Linked DNA regions of Homo sapiens: region 1 is linked to region 2. Evidence: promoter capture Hi-C in 16 types of primary human blood cells and fetal thymus (Javierre and others, 2016). All regions are on one chromosome and are shown on one strand. The core of a region is centred on a gene start or on the middle of the fragment in contact, and the rest is flanking DNA. Distances in the headings are between cores, read along the strand shown. Region 1 holds the start of OR51V1 (olfactory receptor family 51 subfamily V member 1). Region 2 holds the start of TRIM22 (tripartite motif containing 22).

Region 1 (6,379 bases), core at 1,172-3,671, 490 kb after region 2:
TAATTCGGAGCACAGAGAAGACCATGGGCAAAGATCCTGAGACATGCATGTACTTAGCTTGTTTTGAGGAAGATAAAGATACCTAAATATTAAGGAGTGTAGGCAGTAGTGGTCTAAAGATGTAATAGAAGAGGCAGGTGAGCCACGTTATACAAGGCTTTTTGACTATGATAAAGAATTTGTATTTTACATTACGAGCAATGGGTAAGTGACCATCAAAGAGTTTTTTCAACAAAGGTTTGTGTGATTTAGTAGATGTTTGTAGAAAAGCAATTTGGTTTCCCTGGAGATAATACATTTTTTAGAGGACAAACAGATAAATCATGATATTAGCTAGTAATAATATTAAATTATTATTAATTTAATAAATTATCATAGTAGCCAGGGAAACAATGATATTATAAACCAAGACGGGCAATGTGTAAAAGTGGGCCTATCTGGGATGTGTTTCTGGTAGAAATGGTAGAAATTGATGAAAGATTTGATGGAGAGAGGAAAGGGAAGGAAAGAGAGAAATAAAAAATTTTAAAAATGACTCAAGACTTGTCTTATGCAATTGTGTTATTGGTGGAGTCACTTTATAATATTAGGAGAAAAGGGACAGAAAATAGATTTTGGGGGGAAAATCAAGTACTTTATTGGCATCATTCTTATTTTAAGATTAAACACTCAGATGAATATATTAAATAGCCAGTTGTATTCATGAATTTGAGCTCTCAGGAGTGGTCAGGAATCAGAGGTGCAAATGTTAGTTTCAAATAATAAGAAAAAGTTGACATAGTCTGCACATTAAGGAACTGAGAATTTAGTTTGTAACAGAGATATTAGTTAAATATTTAGTTTAAATATTAGTTAAATATTTAGCTAATAAATACAAAATTATAAGTTTTATTTAAAATTGAAACATGATACCAAAATAATAGATATATGGATAAATTTGTCTTAAGAAACTTCTTGAAAAGTGATTGTTGAGTTGCAAGATCGTTTTAAAAAGGGTAGGAAGAAATTGAGGAAAAGATGATGAATAATTTAGGCAGATAGAACATTTCGAGAAAAATTTTACGAAAGAAGAGAAATTCGATTTAGAGAAATGAAAGAAGATACGTATTCAAAAGACTGAAAAATCCTCTGCAAGAAACGAAGAAACTTCAAGCATTCTATGGAGAAAAAAGTATTAAAAATAGTGAGCTAAGTTATTCAATGCTGAGAAGGAGTCAGGGCAAGAAAAACAATGGTTAGACTGCTAGAAGACGTCAGTGTAGTATAGAGAGTACATTGAGAAGAAAGTCTGTGGAACTGTGTTGTGAGGCTAATAAGACAAAGCTGAAAAGTAGGACATAAAGGGCAGCCCAAATCTGAAGTTACTTTAACATCTCGAAGTTACTCAATCAAACATGAAAGTATGGACTTTTGAACATCTGTTTACATTATTAGAGCTTTAAAAAAACTTATGATGATTCTCAGGTCTGGAACTTAAAGCAGGCAAACAATGTAAAGAAGAAGCCAATTGATTCTGCTACCATGAGGCTTTTGAAATTATAAGCTTGCTTGTTTGAGCCTGGCTTTGTGATCTGTAGAACTGCAGGTTCTAAGAAAGAAAACACAATTGGCCAATACATTGAATAAATGTATATTGAATAAATAGTTAATCAGCTCATTAACTGAATAAATAAAGGAATGGGAAGCACTGAGCTGCTATCAAAGGCTCAGTGTCTTCAATCTAATTCTCTACATCACAAAGGCACAAATGAGTTGAACATCTCAAGAGGCCAGAGCTCCAGTGAGAAATCATTTACCCAAGGTCTCATGCATAAATATTCCTGTCTGCTTATCACCAATGAAGAAAAAGTAATTGCTGGCTACGTCATCTGGAGGGGGAGAAAACAGGAGTATCTTCATTAAATAGTATTTGGAGAAAAAATATACTTGGAGACGGCACAAAATGGAAAATGACGGAAAAGTGACTATTTAATAGACTTATGATATTTAAAGCCCAAAGATTACTCTTCACTTCGAATGTTTAATGAATTGGAGAGAAGAAAATAATTTTTCAAGAACCTCGGCTCTTTACTGGTATAAAATTTTTACCACTATCCTTGGGAAAATGTCTAAGCAACGTATTTTTTTAAAACTAGCCTTCTCCTTTTACTAATCTCTTCCTTATTTGTTTTTGCTTATGGCTTCTAAGGATATGTTCACATCCAGACAGTGAAAAAATAATGACTTTTAAATGACATCAAAAGAAGACCATTTTCTCAAAGGCAATGGATACTATGTCTCAAAGAAACAGAATTTCTCAGCTGTTTTTTTTAAGTCAGTAAGTTTTAGGGTATTTCATTTACTTAGAAATTTCATTGTATTCAGGTGAAATTGAAACATTTCCTTTGAAAAAATACTCTCACATGTTTCTCAGTTCCAGAATGATTACTTCAGTAAGCCCTAGCACCAGCACGAATTCTTCCTTTCTTCTCACTGGATTTTCTGGCATGGAGCAGCAATACCCCTGGCTTTCCATCCCCTTCTCCTCAATCTATGCCATGGTGCTTTTGGGCAATTGCATGGTTCTCCATGTGATATGGACTGAGCCAAGCCTGCACCAGCCTATGTTTTACTTCCTGTCCATGCTGGCCCTCACTGACCTGTGCATGGGGCTGTCCACTGTGTACACAGTGCTGGGGATCCTGTGGGGGATCATTCGAGAGATCAGCTTGGATTCCTGCATTGCCCAGTCCTATTTCATCCATGGTCTGTCCTTCATGGAGTCCTCTGTCCTCCTCACTATGGCCTTTGACCGGTACATTGCAATTTGCAATCCACTACGTTATTCCTCCATCCTGACTAATTCCAGAATTATCAAAATTGGGCTCACTATAATAGGTAGGAGTTTTTTCTTTATTACACCCCCCATCATCTGTCTGAAATTTTTTAATTACTGTCATTTCCACATCCTTTCTCACTCTTTCTGCCTGCACCAGGATCTTCTCCGCTTAGCCTGTTCAGACATCCGATTCAATAGTTACTATGCCCTGATGCTGGTTATTTGCATACTGTTGTTGGATGCTATACTCATCCTTTTCTCCTACATCCTGATTCTTAAGTCAGTCCTGGCAGTTGCCTCTCAGGAAGAGAGGCATAAATTATTTCAGACCTGCATCTCCCACATCTGTGCTGTCCTTGTGTTCTACATCCCTATCATTAGCCTCACAATGGTGCACCGTTTTGGCAAGCACCTTTCCCCCGTGGCCCACGTTCTCATTGGCAACATCTACATCCTTTTCCCACCTTTAATGAATCCCATCATCTACAGTGTCAAGACCCAACAGATTCATACCAGAATGCTTAGACTCTTTTCTCTGAAAAGATATTGAGAGATATTGAGATGTATTGCCTAAAAAAAAGAAAGAAAAGCAGCAACAATAATAAACAAAAATCAGTGCCATAAAAAAGAAAAAATTATTAAAATTGTAGATTTACTCTGAGTCCATGACAAATGACCTTAAAAAATATTTAAATATAGTCAGAGAATCAACAAACAAGTTCCATTGTGTCAGCCTGGACACATGTAGGTCACTCTATCAGTCTGACCATATTTAAGAAAGAGGAAAAAATTGTTTATTTGCCTGAAATGTACTTTTGAGCATTTCCTTTGCTGTAAAACAAAGCTGGATTAAAAACCTAGGTTTTCAAGTTTCAAAGTAGAAAACTTGAAGTTTCTTTCATTCTCTGAGGTTTACTTAATTAACCTTCAAAATGGAGACTATAGCCAACTCACAGGAATGTTGTGATATCTGTATGGACCAGAATTGTCCAAGGGAACTTTTCTAAACTGATGGCGATGTTCTATAAAATACCATAAAATGGCTAAAGTGGAATATATGGCTCCTGTGCGCTTGAAATGATGGTAGTGTAATTGAACAACTGCATTTACAATTTCAGTTACTTTAAGTTAATTTATATTTAAATGTTTAATGTCCTTGTATTGGACAGTTCAGTTCAGCAGCCACTATATTGGACAGGGAAGCTACAGTTCATAAAGAGGACACAAAGAAATATGACTTTGGATTCAACTTCTACCATGTCTAATTTAAATTAGAATCCTTATTTTTTAGATTTTATATGTGGACTCCACTGCTACAAGGCTGGAAGCAGATTTTGCTCTAGATCTTTTGCTTTTATATCTAAGTGGGGGATCTTCTGAACAGATGAGACTGTCCGCTACCGACTTATTCTGAGTTTAAAAGAAAAAAGATAAAAGAACATAAAGCGGTTCTTTTCTAAGTAAGCTAGTGCAGCTTTCCAAAGAAGGAAAGAAAGGAAGGAAATCAGGTACAAAACTATGCATGGATAACAAGAAAATAATTGTTTTAATCTTCCTATATTCTATTAGGTATCTAAGAAGGTAAGTGTTAAAATTGGACAAATTAATGCATAAGAGTCATTTTACACCAAAAAGCAAATATTTATTTTTATTTTTAGATATCAACTAAAACAACCAGATTTGTCTTCCTGTAATTATGCCTTCCTTTCCTTTCACTTTGGACTTCATTCAATAACATAGCCTCTGTCTACTTATTTGACTCAGAGGGAAACAAAAATACAGGCTTTGGTTTCTAATAGCTTAAGCCTCAAAGTGAGGAAATTGTTTCTGGACAGAGTAAAGTATCTGGTTAGAAAGATAAGTGTAAAATTATTCCTAGAACAATAAATTAGGTCTTCTGGGTTACAGTATAAGGTTAATTTGAAGGATAAAGGAGTGAATTTCCTGATGTCAAAGAGGATCTAGTGCATCTTCTGGTATAGCTATCAGAAGTGAAAACTGTGAGGTAGGTTCTAGAGGGGAAAATGTCAATATATATATTTTTTACTATATAATCATAGTAGCTGCCGAGGCGGGCGGATCATGAGGTCAGGAGATCGAGACCATCCTGGCCAGCAATGGTGAAACCCCGTCTCTACTAAAAAAACACAAGAAAGTATCCAGGCGTGGTGGCGGGCACCTGTAGTCCCAGGTACTCGGGAGGCTGAGACAGGAGAATGGCGTGAACCCGGGAGGTGGAGCTTGCAGTGAGTCGAGATCACGCCACTGCACTCCAGCCTGGGCGACAGAGAGAGACTCTGTCTCAAAAAAAAAAAAAAAAAGAGAAAAAAAAAGAAAAGTTGATATGAATGTCAGGTGGTAGTACTGCTCCAGGTTCCCTAATGATAATAAATGTCTGCATGGTCCCTCCTGGCCGACTGGAATGTGGCCAATCTGACAAGATTCCTATGCCCCAGTTTTATAATGAAAAGAGAAGTTAGCTGCTGAATCTGTAGAGGTCATGTGAATGTCTCATAGATTTCTCAATGGCCAAAGAAGCTTCCTTCTAATGCTTTGAAAGTGAATAAGCATCCACCCTCCCATACGCCGGAGAGCTGACACAACACTGGGGAAGCAGAGAATTCTTCAACAACTGACAATATGTTTTCCACCAGCCACTCATAGGGAAGCATCAGAATGAATTTATATTTATTATTTGAACAATATTACATGTCTGACACAACTGAGTTGTTGGTTTGAGAGTTATGTTTAACAGGGAGAGTAGGAAGGCTCATCTGAAGACTTCATACTATGAGTGTTTGTGCTTCAGATTAGGCAACCTATAGAATGTGAACCAAAATAGTTTGAAATAATGGCCGTGACAAAACAGTTAATAAAAAATACCTAAGAGTATCCTCAGAAATCATTGCTTATTTTAGAGCTATATAATTGTACTATGATGATAAGATTTATGAAGAACTTCAGAATCTTTACAATTCAGCCAAAGGGAGGAAAATCAGTAAAAAAAAAAAAAAAAAGCCAATGAAAGTAAACTTTATATGATTACTGGGCTTTATACAGAAAGAAACAGGTTTAGAACATTAGTAGTTTAGATTGTTTGTTTTGCAAAGGCCTCTATCTGGAAGCAATTACTTAAAAAAATAACTAAACCTCTCCTGAGGAAGAAAAGGCAATTTCAGAGACATCAGCCCAGGTCCTGAAAGGAAGAGCAGATGGAGACATCACAGGTGTTTAAAACACTGTCTGTTTTGAAAAGCTACATAGTAGCCAGGTGGAGACATTTTTCCATATATCTCAAAAAGCCAGCTTCTAAGGAAACTTGTTTTCCATGAATTAGGCAACAACAGCTGAAACTGTTGTTGATGTGGTAGCCTGCAGAGCCAGTGAGAAGCAGTTATCAGATTCCTTTGTAAGGCCTGCAAGGCTACTATCCAGCGTCACTGAGAAACGTTACGAAAACAGCCACAGTGATGTTAGGGAAACACAGTTCTCTTTTGCCTTTTTTTTTTTAATAGGTAGACTGTCATATCATTGTAACTGCTGCCTTAAATGAAGTCACGG
Region 2 (6,473 bases), core at 3,251-5,750:
TTTCAAAGAAACATCTGTTGGTCATGGGAGAAAAGTCTCAATCCATAAAGGAGGCCAAGTACATTGAGAATATGTAGCAGAGAGATAAAGTCTGTCCTGTTTCTCCCCAAATGATGTTGAAATCCTAATGTGTGAATGTGCTCTTATTTGAAACTAGTATATTTAAATACTATTTAGTTACCATGTGCTCATTAGGGTAGACCCTTATCCAACATGACTGTGTCCTTATCAAAAAGGGACATTTATACACAAGGAATATGCCAGGGTGAAGAAGAAAGCAGAGATCAGGGTGATGCACCTATAAGCCAAGGAATGCTAAAGGTTTCCAGGAAACTATTAGAAGCTAGAAGAGAGGCATGGACCAGAGGCCTCCTTCATAGCCTTCAGAAGGAACCAGCCCTGTCAACACATTTTATCTTGGATAACTAGCCTCCAGAATTGTAAGGCAATATATTTCTGCTATTTAAGCCAACCACTTTTGGTACTTTTTCTATGACAGCTCTAGAAAACTAATACAAGTGCTTATTTTTCTTGATTTATTCATTCTTTTTTTTTTTTTTTTTTTTTTGAGACGGAGTCTCACTCTGTCACCCAGGCTGGAGTGCAGTGGTGCGATCTCGGCTCCTTGCCAGCTCCGCCTCTCGGGTTCACGCCATTCTCCTGCCTCAGCCTCCAAGTAGCTGGGACTACAGGCGCCCGCCACCACACCCGGGTGATTTTTTGGTGTCTTTTTAGTAGAGACGGGGTTTCACTGTGTTAGCCAGGATGGTCTCGATCTCCGGACCTCATGATCTGCCCGCCTCGGCCTCCCAAAGTGCTGGGATTACTGGCGTGAGCCACCGCGCCCGGCCTATTCATTCTTTATTCTAACATTGAAGAAATGTAGCCCCATTGAAACCCTTCCGACCTAAGACAGGTAGACAGACAGACACATAAACAAAATGCATGCTCCCCTTTGAAGGTGGTGCGAATGTAGAAGTTTCTATGACACGGTGAAGGCTAACTAGGTCCGTAGCTTCCTTGTTTCAGAATACTCTGATTACCTGCACAGAAGCTTTCTTTATCTGTGCAATTTAAATCAAAAAAAAAAAAAAAAAAAAGATGGCCAGGCGCTGTGGCTCAAGCCTGTAATCCCAGCAGTTTGGGGGGCCGAGGCGGGCAGATTACCTGAGGTCAGGAGTTTGAGGCCAGCCTGGCCACTATGGTGAGACCCCGTATCTACTAAAAAATATATATATATACAAACATTAGCCAGGTGTGACAGCAGTTGCTTGTAGTCCCCGCTACTCTGGAGGCTGAGGCAGGAGAATCACTTGAACCCAGGAGGCGGAGGTTGCAGTGAGCTGAGATCACACCACTGCACTCCAGCCTGGCAACAGAGCAAGACTCCGTCAAAAGAAAAAAAAAAAAAAAGATTAAATTAAATTAGTGTGGCTACACAATAAGGAGAAAAATTATAAGGGGTTTAGCCATCAATATCTTTTTTTTTTTTTTTTGAGACAAGGTCTCACTGCGTTGCCCAGGCTGGTCTCAAACTCCTCAACTCAAGCAGTCCTCCAGTCTTGGCTTCCCAAAGTGCTGGGATTTTTGGCTAGGCTTTGGCACAAGCCACCAGGTGCCTGGCCTAGCCAACATCTTTTAAATTTCCCCTGTTCCTTGGGTCAGGAACTACCAATGGAGAAAATAGGTCCTGTTCTTGGCATGCAGAAACCTGGAGAACTCAGAAACACCGTTACCACTTCTTATTTGTCTAAACTCAGAGTTCCTTTTTCAATGACCCACTAAAATGTCCAGGGTTTAGTTTTCCCCAAGTAATGACCCTTTTTCCAAGAGTTCTAACTCTCTGGTCAATATGTTTCAGATAAGTCATTTTGTAACAGAGGACAGATTTCATAAAGCTACCCCAGTGTCATCTCTTTCTCTCACAGTTAGTTCATCAGTTCTTAAATCCATCATTTTATTGAAGACTGCTCAAAATCATTGTCTCACAGTGAGACCTAATGTGAAATCTATTTAAAGTTGCAAAGCCCTTGACAAGAGCACTACAGATACCACATCCTATTGCAGCCCTTTTAGTTTGTTGCTTTTGTTTTATTGGTTTTACATTTATCCTCTAGTAACTGCTACCTTTTTGCTACATTAAAACTGCTGGTTTACTTCCTTTTTTTGACTGCGTGTTTACTTCCTTTTCCCTAGTCCAGAGCATAATCTCTTACCGGTATTTAATGTTGATTATATATCGAATAGATAGTTTTTTTGTTTTTGTTTTTGTTTTTTTACTATACCTGTATGCTTTTGTTTTGTGAATTTAGTCAAAAATATTTTTCAAAAATTAAAAGTACAGTTTTATTTATTGGGTCCTGTACTAGACTTGACAATGAATAAATACTAGATATGGACCTTGACAAGATGTGCGGTACAGACACATAAGGAGACAGTTACCTGGACCTCTGAAAAGTGAAACAAAGAAAAGGACACATCAGAATATGGGTGACATAGGCATCAAGGTACAAAATGCTCAGCGATAAGATCGAGATAAGACTCAGGAGAAATTACCAACTCCTTGCCTTAGCTCTGTGCAAGGGAAAATTGAGTAGGGAGTTGAGGTAACTCATGATGAAAAGGTGTACCTAGAATAATAGCAACTTCTAAAACAGGAGTGGATACCAGAGGTTCATTGGGTGCTACAGAAGTTGAGGGAGGAGACCACCTCTCATATTGTCTTATGCCCAATTTCTGCCTCCAAAGAAAGAAAAAGTAAAAACTAAAAGGCAGAAATGAAATCCACAAGCAGACAGCCCGGGGCCACACCCTGGACCTGGTAGTTAAAGATGGACCCCTGACCTAATTGGTTTGTTATCTATAGATTCCAGACATTGTATAGAAAAGCACTGTGAAAATCCCTACTCTGTTTTGTTCCGATCTAATTACCGGTGTATGCAGCCCCCAGTCACGTACCCCCTGCTTGCTCAATCGATCACGACCCTCTCACGCGGACCCCCTTAGAGTTGTGAGCCCTTAAAAGGGACAGGAATTGCTCACTCGAGGAGCTCGGCTCTTGAGACAGGAGTCTTGCCTATGCCCCTGGCCGAATAAACCCCTTCCTTCTTTACCTCGGTGTCTGAGGAGTTTTTTCTGTGGCTGGTCCTGCTACAAAGGAAGAGTAAGCTGTGGGTACTCAGAAGAACAAGTTCCCTGTGACTGGACCTTCAGAGACAAGAGACCAAAGTGGAGCTGCAGAGATGAGCAGCAGTCTGCCCGTCCTGCGGCCTCTCTCCTCGGACTAACCAGAGGGCTGCTAATTTATCAGGAAAGCTATGGACAGCATCCAAAAAGTTACCAGAAGGCAAGTAAAAGGATAACCTTCAAAAGGGCCTTACTTCTGAAGACTGAGTACCTAAGACTCCTTCGCCTCATACCCAGATCCAGATAAGGGCTCTCATCCCTGCTGAACCTCATCATGAGGTTGCTTTATGAAAAGTGAAAACAAAGCTTCATTGCACAGGCTTCTTCGGGAGAAAGGAGGAAGGAATTTGCTGCCTCTGAATAAAAGAAAATTCTGATCCACGTTGGCAAAATGGAAAAATCAAAATGACAGAATAGGAATGTGGGGTATGATAAGGTTTCTCTTCAAATAGCCTGATCAATCCTTTATTCTTTAATTCACAGTGCCCCTCCCCACTTCACTTTTCTTCTCTTCTCTTTCCTTTCTGCTTTTGCTACATGCCTAGACATGTCACAGTACCAGGCGTTATCAGTACCAACTCACATTCCTTTCCTTATTTTGGAAGAAGATTAGTTATCTAGCTCATCACACACACCCCTTCCCCATCTCCCCTCTCTCCCTCACGTGCCCACCTTATCTAAAGAAAGTTAAAATGTTTAGCCAACTGAGTCTAGTTTAGATTGTGTGGCCGACTCCAGCCAATGGGGAAAGGGCAAAGGGGTAGGATTTGCGTCAGGAATAAAAACTTTCTTCCTCCTTTGTTCTAGTGTGCTCTCATGGCGACTGGCAAAGAAGAAGCACCCCTCTGCACAGAAATAAAATTGCTTTGCTGAGAAATCCTTTGTTTGAGTGCTCGTCTCCCTTAAGATTCTGAGCTTTATTTCCAACAAGGAAGGTGATGGAGGTACCTAGATTGAAGAAATGAATGGTCCCTCTAGGAAACAAGCAAGGCTTTTTGCTTTTGCAAACCTCTCTTCTTTAAAGGTTACCCCTCTCCCAGACTCAGTGCTTTCTTCCTCTGCCATCTCAGCAGACAGTTCACAAGCTGCCTCTTTTTGTTTATGCAGAGCAGCTTCAGAACTACAAATTAAACTCACCCAGACACAATCAATCTATTCTTCTCAAAGCCTCCCATTCTATGCTCCCACAGATTGCTCCACTCACCTTCAGTCCAAAGCAGAGGAGTCTTGAATCAGGGGAGAAGAGTGAAGGCAGGGCAGGAGCCGGTGTAAACCAGATTCACTCACCAAGCCAGAGGGCTGGTCTCCACAAATGAGTTTCCCCACAGGAGCTGAGTGAGAAACGAAAGTTAAATTCTCAGAAGTGAAAGAAAACAAAGGAAGCTGAACAAGAACTTACATAACAATAAACCCTGGGGAAAGTAATGCTACATTATGTTCTAGCATCTGCTGTACTGGCAAGGCACTCAGTCACTACTTCCTTATTCTTACTGTGGTTTACTCAAGCAAGAATATTTGAATAAAAAGAATGTGAATTACAGTTATACAGCTTGCCTGAATACTTAGAATTCCAATGCAGTCCTATAATTATTAGTCGAATTTATCTTATATTTAAGACCTAAGCCAGGAAAATAAAGATCCAGAGACTTGGGACCTAGCTTCTTGAAATGCAGTCTGACGAGGAAGATACTCAGTTATAAAGCTCTACAAATTTGGGCTGACAAGATGAGTATTAGCAGCTGACATTGTGAATGGTAAAAAAATTATTTTTATAAATAAAAGGATCTTTAGTGTGAGCCCATTGAAAAAAATGTTCTCAAAATGTCATTAAATCTTAAGAGTCCATCAATTAATTATCACTTCCTGCTCCTAATCCAGACAGACCAGATGAGGATGGATTCCAGAGAGTAATAGAGGTAAAACTGTGTCAGTGTCATGTTACCCAGCCACTGAGGCAGGTGAGAACATGGAAGTTAACAGATGATGCTGTTTAATTATAATCATTCATTGAGTTACTCTCATGCCTTCATAATTTTTCCACTTTTCCCTGCTTCTCTAAGAAAAGTTTGGTCATTTTTACACAATCAATTAAAAAGCAGCACTGAAACATGTTATACGTCATGCACATACTTCTGTACCCTGTTGTCTATTGTATTCTTGTTTAACTGCATGTGCCAGATAATGCCATCAAAAACTGATGGAGGCCTGTGGTGTCTCATGCCTGTAATCCCAGCACTCTGGGAGGCCCAGGTGGGTGGATCACTTGAGTCCAGGACTTCAACACCAGCCTGGGCAACATGGTGAAATCCCATCTCTAAGAAAAATTAAAAAAAAAAAAATAGCTGGGTGTGGTGATGTGCACCTGTAGTCCCAGCTACTCAGGAAACTGAGATGGGAGGATGGCTTGAGCCCAGGAGGTGGAGGTTGCATTGAGCCAAGATTGCGTCATTGCACCATAGCACTGCAGCCTGGGTGACATAGTAAGACCCTGTCTCTACAAAAAACAAACAAACAAACACCACACAACACATACACACACACACCCAAAAAAAAAGAAAAAAAAAGGCAACTCATGGAGCTTCCATAACATGGATCCCTGACTGACACTATGGAGCATGGCCATCTTCATACTTTAATCAATGATACACATGTAGGATGACTGAGAAATCAATGTTTATTATTTCAATAATAGATATTTTGGTATTATTTGTTGCTCACAGAATAATAAGCTAATCCTGGCTATAAATTCTTTCCTACTCACTTATATCTATGAGGACCTTATTCAATCAGCTGAAAGCCAGAATAGAAGAAAAAACTGACTTCTCCCCGAGAAGAGGGAATATTACCAGCAGGCAAACCTCAGGCGTGAGCTATAACGTTGACTCCTTCTTGGATCCAGAGCCTCTTGGCCTACCTTGCAGACTTTGGATTTGCCAGTCTCCAGAATCACCTGAGACATTTCTCAAGTTTCTTTCCAAATAAATTCATAGTTTAGTGGTTCTATTGCTATGATGAACCTTGACTAAGACAGGCGTGAAATTTTCTTATTTCTTCTTGAAGATAAATAAGCAAGAGATGTAATTTTAGGTATATTCCATGTTTGAATAGAATATCTTGTTGACATTTGTAGGGGAGTGAGCGCTCAGTGAGTGAATGTGTTTTTTCTGGAGTGCACAGAGTGGAGTCCGAGTGTCAACCACAATGGACAAAGTGAATGAACTCATTTATCCAGAGACCTGTTCTCTGTCCATTATTTCTTCCCTTCTCAGCACTTCCATAGATCTCAT

What was found. Contacts are between HindIII fragments. The CHiCAGO score rates a contact against its expected background, and 5 or more counts as called.
Region 1: a contact is called between the fragment with the promoter of OR51V1 here and the fragment with the promoter of TRIM22 in region 2, in 2 of 17 cell types (M1 macrophages and M2 macrophages). The highest score is 5.9, in M1 macrophages.

The regions. Positions count from the first base shown.
Region 1 is chr11:5,196,724-5,203,102 of GRCh38, reverse strand. It overlaps OR51V1 (olfactory receptor family 51 subfamily V member 1), which reads left to right and starts at 2,421. Exons shown (of 1, transcript NM_001004760.3): 1 at 2,421-3,368. The coding sequence starts at 2,421. The coding sequence ends at 3,368. The HindIII fragment of the contact is 3,813 bases long and covers 1,546-5,358 here.
Region 2 is chr11:5,687,817-5,694,289 of GRCh38, reverse strand. TRIM22 (tripartite motif containing 22) reads right to left here and starts at 4,500. Exons shown (of 8, transcript NM_006074.5): 1 at 4,391-4,500. It overlaps LOC124902620 (a long non-coding RNA gene), which reads left to right and starts at 1,536. Exons shown (of 2, transcript XR_007062561.1): 1 at 1,536-3,612; 2 at 3,994-4,063. RefSeq lists enhancers at 3,681-3,780, 3,196-4,395, 4,367-4,706, 3,828-4,820. The HindIII fragment of the contact is 4,665 bases long and covers 3,495-6,473 here.